2 separate regions of the Homo sapiens genome follow, and region 1 is linked to region 2. Evidence: promoter capture Hi-C in 16 types of primary human blood cells and fetal thymus (Javierre and others, 2016). All regions are on one chromosome and are shown on one strand. The core of a region is centred on a gene start or on the middle of the fragment in contact, and the rest is flanking DNA. Distances in the headings are between cores, read along the strand shown. Region 1 holds the start of RBM45 (RNA binding motif protein 45). Region 2 holds the start of LNPK (lunapark, ER junction formation factor).

Region 1 (3,247 bases), core at 60-2,559, 2.1 Mb after region 2:
CACTCTATGATTTCTCTTAGTTCCACAGCTGAGCAGTCCACCCTCACTGCCCTCCAACCCCAGGGTTGCTTGTAGAAGTTGAGTAAATCAACAGATGGAGTTAGTTCTGGGTTTTTTGTTGTTGTTGTTGTTGTTTGAGGTGGAGTCTCGCTCTATCCCCCAGGCTGGAGTGCAGTGGTGCAAACTCTGCTCACTGCAAGCTGTGCCTCCTGGGTTCACACCATTCTCCTGCCTCAGCCTCCTGAGTAGCTGGGACTACAGGTGCCCGCCACCACGCCAAACTAATTTTTTTGTATTTTTTTGGTAGAGACGGGGTTTCACCGTGTTAGCCAGGATGGTCTCGATCTCCTGACCTCGTGATCCGCCCGCCTCGGCCTCCCAAAGTGCTGGGATCACAGACGTGAGCCACTGCGCCTGGCCAAGTTAGTTCTGGTTTTAGTCGTACTTTTTATCTCTATTACTTTGGCTATGCTATAGGCCTCAGTTTCCTCATCTCTAACAAATGACGCTGAAATTGAATGATCTCAAAGCTTCCTTCCAACTCTAATGCTATATAGTTTGAACTCTGTCCTATATTGATCATCTATTGAGCTTATGACCAAGATGGTGACAACTCTCCACTTTGACCAAAACTTAGTTAGGCTCCTTTGAGTCCTCTGCTTGACTAGGCTTGATCTTGGGCTTTCTGTCCTTGTAGAATCCAATTTGAGCAAGAATCCTGCTGAATCAGTGTAGTGAAAATCCTCATTCTTGGTGTCTGACTACCATGGATATCAATCACCCTGGCCTGCCTTCAGCAACTATCCTGTCAAGTTGGTTTAGCCAGAATCCTCCTTAACACTGATGTTCCCTCTTTGTAATTTTCCATCCACTGACCTCCCACCAAGCTTCTTGGTTAGAAATTTGTCCTTATTAGAGTCAAAATTCAGTCCAATCTCTCTCTCCCACTGCAAGACCCCATTGCAGCTGTCCCTGGACCTATCTCCATGGCTCCCTTTGTCAAAGTCGGCCTTCCTGTACCATCTCTAACGAGTGTCATGAATAATTTTTTCTTTAACACTGGAAAGAATCCTTGGCCTTAGGGGTGGGGTAAAGCCAGCGTTGGGAAAGCCTGTGCATTAGGCAGCGCTGTTCTGCCTGCAGGGAACGATTGCACAACTGATAACTTGGGCCTAGGCTCAGCTGGATTTGAGGATTTGAGACTTAGACTGGGTCAGGGTCCCCCGCGTCGCCAGGGGGCGCTGCAGGCCGCTCCCCGGAAGGCCTCATCCTGCGCGGCTGGACAGCGCCTGGCGCCGGACTCCTCTTTCTCCCGGAAGCGGAGCACCGAGCCGGCAAAGGCTTGGGTGTGAGACAGCAGCGGTGGCAGACACCGCAGAAGCAAAGAGCAGTGAGGCTCCTGCATTCGGGTGGAGCACCATGGACGAAGCTGGCAGCTCTGCGAGCGGCGGGGGCTTCCGCCCGGGCGTGGACAGCCTGGACGAACCGCCCAACAGCCGCATCTTCCTTGTGATCAGCAAGTACACACCTGAGTCGGTGCTGAGGGAGCGCTTCTCGCCTTTTGGCGACATCCAGGACATCTGGGTGGTGCGGGACAAGCACACCAAGGAGTCCAAGGGCATTGCTTTCGTCAAGTTCGCCCGCAGCTCACAGGCCTGCAGGGCCATGGAGGAGATGCATGGCCAGTGCCTCGGCCCCAACGACACCAAGCCCATCAAGGTGCGGGTGCCCGGGTCGGGGTGCCCTCGGGGGAAGGAGTGGGCCTCTTGGACCTCCCTTCACCTGCTGCTCTGCCGGGGTGAGGGAGGAGTGGAACATCCGTTCCCGGCAGCTGACCAGACAGCACCTGGCTTGGGGACAGGGGCTGCTTTGAGGAGAGGCTCCCCTCCCACGAAGCTGCGCCGGGTTGCAGGGAAGGGGACGGGATGCGGAGTGTTTGCCCCACGAGAGCGGACCCGGCAGCCGCGGCCACCGGGTGACAGAACAGCAGTGGCTGGGCTTCCCCTCTCCCTCGCCCTCACTAATCCACCAGCTCTTGAGTTCACTGCCAAACTCGTCCTAGCCTACTTTGAGTACTTTTCTGACCTTCCTCTCTCAGATGCCCAGATTTCCATATATAAAAAACGGAAAAACTCTACTTTTCCTCAGGTACAGATGAGGCGTTAACAACTTGACAGAAGTACTTTAAACTGGGGAGGGACCTCTGGTGTTGGACGTTTTCCTAGTACCAGGCGAAAGAATACATGTACAGAAAGAATAAGTGCAGGTGTTTAAAACGGTCACTGTTACATATTCTTCACATTTTGTTATTTTGGAAAATTGTTTTGAATGAGCTCTGTTTCTGAAAGTGTTAATAGCATACATTTGGTTCTTGACCCTTTCTGTTACTGCAACTTTTCTTTGAAAGCAGACCAAAGTAAACTGCCTTAAGAAGAGCCAAATCATTGTGATAATGACACATGGCAGGAAGGATCATTTTGAGGGTTATTTGACATAATATGTGCTGTCAGCACAGTGCCTCACACAGGGTAAGCCCTCAATAATGTCCTTGTTATTGATCAGTAGTAGCCAAGATGTCACAGCTTACTCCCTGTGATCTCAAATCAGGACTCAATCCTGAGAATCTGGCAATTGCTTAAATTGTAGCCTTCGTCTGCCCCATGTAAATAGTTGCTGTGTATGTTATTCTGTTGGTACTTTGCACAAAAATATTTTCTCAATTTTTTAAAAAATTGTTTTCCAAACTGAGAATGGTATTAATATGGATTTATGTAAATAAAGGGCTCAGAGATATTTCAGTCTCTGGAGGTCTTGCTCCATCCACCAAAGAGAAGGAGCCTGGGACTCTACCAACAACACAGTAAACAGTCCCTTCCTCCCACTTCTCCAACCCTCTGAAGTGTGTCAGAGTGACAGCAACAAAATTAATTGTAGGGCCACAGCATACAGGATCAGGAATTGGCAAACTTTTTCTGTAAAGGGCTGACTAGTAAATATTTTAGGCTTTGCAGGCCACATACAGTCTCTGTCACATAACCTTGTCTGTTTTTACAGTCCTTAAAAACTGTAAAAACAATTATTACATCATGGGCTATACCAAAAATGGAGCTGTGGTTTGCTGACCCCTGTACTAGACTAATGAATTTTATCGCTGTCCAATTATGACCTTAGTGGAGAGGATTTTTATATTTTGAGTGTAACATGGCCACAGAGCCCTTGTGGGCAGCCCAAAAAACTGTCCCATATT
Region 2 (3,310 bases), core at 432-2,931:
GCAAAAAATTCTGTAGACTCTGCCATTAAATAACCTTGTAGGTCTTTGAAGGAAACAGCAAAGGAAGTTCTATGTTTATCAAATTCCAAAGTTAAGTATAAGCTATTTAATCACCATCAACAGTACCTCCATAACATATTATACTATACAATTGAAGAGTAAAGGTGATTTATTCTAGAATTCTAACTTTCAAATGTCCTAACTGAAAAGACAATTCTGAAATAGCCCAAGCCACATTTATTGCTCCTCAAAAAGAATTTTAATGAAAAGTACACCTCTATTATATATTAAGCACTCTTAATATATAATGATTAGTGCTTGCTTTCATGGTAAGTCAATTTTCATCTGAACTAAATACCACCAAAAAATTACTATTTGATTATAAATGTTTCTATGTGAAGTCATATATTTTTAATAGCCATATAACTTCTCCTTTTCTTGTATTTTCTTGTTTATATAACATATAAACACTATATAAGTTTACTAACATCATTACTGAGCTGATCTCAATAGATAACAGACAACCTTAAAATTCTAATTTAAACGCACCACTCCTGTTTAAGAAAATGTGTTAAAAGTCAACTTGGTCTTCTGGGGGCTGCTGAGGAAAAGAAATGAGCATTCCCTGCCAGTTTGAACATATTCCTGAAACCAAGCTTACTCACACCCACCAAACCGCTGTTGAATAGAGTCAATTTTGTCAATGCTGACACCCAGGCCATAAAGAAAGGAGGAAACAGTAGACACCGAGCAACACACACCGGAGGCCAACTGGGAAAAGCAGAACACGGAAAACTCAGTGATTCACGGGTCTTGCTTAGTACTGTGAAAGCACCATCAGCAAAGCTGAGTTGACCAATTTCAACTCTTTCTCAATCCGTAAACTATGAACTGACGGAATTTAGATTTGTTTTTCTCCTCCTACCACGCCTCTGATACAATGCACCTTCGCCCTTCCCCTCCACCCCACAGCCCACCATCCCTGAAATAAGGACAATGGTTGGAGAGTCTCTTCTCTAAGTAGCACGTACTCCACGCCCACACGCTAGAGCCCGGCAGCATGACACTGACAGTTTTCAGTCCCTTCTGGTCTTTCTAACTCTTGGAGCCTCCGCACAACTCAGAAAGAGAAGCGGAGAGAACGCTCAAAGCGGACAGCTGAGCGTAGGAAATGCTAGTTTGGGACCTTCTGACCTCTTTGCCCCACCTGTGTCGAGATAAGCTCGACACAAGTGGGCCAAAGAGCTGGGGCTCAAGCCAGTCACCACCCGGAATCTCCTAGAACCGAGCTGGAGAAACTACCAGCCCTAGAGGGGAAACAAGGGTTTCAAGACTCCAGCGCCACCACTGCCAGTGTGCTGGGAAATCCAGGGAACAAGGCGGCGAGCCTGGGTCTGCGCGGACCACCGCGCAGCCTGACTAGCAGCCGCCGCAGAGCTCTAGGCCACTTGGCAGGAGGCGGGGGCACCAAGGAGAGGCAAGCGGGGAACCCGCAGCTTATTTCCCAGGGGCACAGCTCAGCATGCCTCCCCGCTGCAGAGCCCTCCCAACTGCCCTCGCCTTGAGCGTTCTACCTGCAAGAAGCGGGCGCAGCCCGGCCCGGGCGTCCACCCCCGCCAGTCTCGGCCGCCACCGCCCAGCCTGCCTCCAGAGCAGGCAGCAGCCGCCACTGACAGAGAGACAAGCCGGGCCAACTCCTTCCCATGAAACCCCGCGCTCCAGCCGCTCGCCAATTGGCGCCGCGGTCGGCGCGCGCCGCTCCCCCGTCACGTGACCGTACCCTGGGCGGGTAGTTGTTGGGGCGGGTCGGCCGGGAGGTTAGGATCTTGTGTTTGTGGCCTCCGCAGCCAGCTTAGGCTGCTCGGTGTCGTGTCGCAGTTATGTACTGCCATTTATTATGACTCTTAGAATATAGTTATTTCTTACTCTTCCGCTGCCTCCTTTGCTTTTAAAGCCTGTTCTGCCAAGTCTCGCTGGAGAAGGAAACCCCTGAAACTGGTCCTGGTGGTCTCAGACCGCCGCGCGAGCGAAGAGTGGGGAGGACAAAGGTTGGGGAGTTGAGAAGGATGGAGATGGGTGCATCTGGAAGGGAGTCCGTCCTGAGGAGTCCCCCATCAGCTGTCAGCCAGCCAGCAGCAAAGCAAATTAAGACTACACAGCTCCGAAGAAGCCAGTTCCCAACCAAGCCAGTGGAGAAAAGTCAGCCCGGTCCCCAGGAGTGCTTGAGGCTCTGTCACTCTTGGACGTCAAAAAGGGTCATTTGATGACTGGACGCTTACCTCACCGGTGTGAGGTAAGCTTCAAACGCCGTATCATGTTGCTTTAAAACCTGCGGGTAACAGCATAAGCTGAGTTTTCTATCTTAGAACTCTTAACCCCAAGAACACTCTTCACAGGCCCTGATAGGTGGACCCACAAAAAAACCACTCAGGCTATATTTGACTCGGATTTGAAACGCTGCCGAAACGGTATTAAGTGTCCTCCTCAACTGGAAAAGACAAATAACAAATGATGCCTGAATGAGAAAAAGACTAGACGTGCACACAGTAATGTGTGAGCAGGGAAACTTCAGCGAAGGTTTTTATCATGCTTTACCCCTTTTACATGCTTTACCCCATGTGCAAACATTTTTCATGGGTTTTTTTCTATTTTTTATTTATTTTTATTCTATTTTTTTATTTATACACAAAAAAGTTTCAATGATTTTTTAAAGAGTAATAGTTTTAATATGTTACATTTAAACTTTGACGATGCAAACAGGTTGTCAAGAGAAGCAACTGAGCATTGTTTGGTTGGTAAGAAAATTTATTATACTAGAAGCTACCGCATAATTCACTGTGCAATTTGCTTGCCCTAATTGCCTAAATATTTAGTTACAGTTCTGTACACTTGCAAGGATGAGGGGAAGGGAACTGAAGTTTAGCGTGTCACTGTGGATCAGGCACTTTCCAAATGTAGAAGAAAATGAACAGAAACATTTCACCTGTTTTGATGTGGAAATTTAACCGTTTTGTTTTTCAACCTTTGCTGTTGCAAAGTATTAAAGTCCTGTGCAGTTTTGCAAATATATCTCACCGCAGAAAGATCTCCTTTCCTAAGAAGACTGGGAAGAACGGCTTTCCACTTGCCAGTAATGTGTCCTCTGGTTTCAATTGAGCCATCAGTGTCTGTACTCCAGCCTGGGCTACCAAGCGATACCCCACCTCTGAAAAAAGGGTAGCAAGGGGACAGAGAAGAGCTGTCTGGATACACGAGATTCCAAAAACCTAATCCTGAGATAAAATTCCCTAGGGAATTGCTCTACCGAGAG

Evidence for each region. Contacts are between HindIII fragments. The CHiCAGO score rates a contact against its expected background, and 5 or more counts as called.
Region 1: a contact is called between the fragment with the promoter of RBM45 here and the fragment with the promoter of LNPK in region 2, in 6 of 17 cell types (activated CD4 T cells, non-activated CD4 T cells, total CD8 T cells and 3 more). The highest score is 9.7, in activated CD4 T cells.

Annotation. Positions count from the first base shown.
Region 1 is chr2:178,111,128-178,114,374 of GRCh38, forward strand. It overlaps RBM45 (RNA binding motif protein 45), which reads left to right and starts at 1,310. Exons shown (of 10, transcript NM_152945.4): 1 at 1,310-1,719. The coding sequence starts at 1,420. RefSeq lists an enhancer at 1,346-1,515. The HindIII fragment of the contact is 3,392 bases long and covers 886-3,247 here.
Region 2 is chr2:176,000,586-176,003,895 of GRCh38, forward strand. It overlaps LNPK (lunapark, ER junction formation factor), which reads right to left and starts at 1,682. Exons shown (of 13, transcript NM_030650.3): 1 at 1,575-1,682. RefSeq lists an enhancer at 1,876-2,095. The HindIII fragment of the contact is 1,642 bases long and covers 655-2,296 here.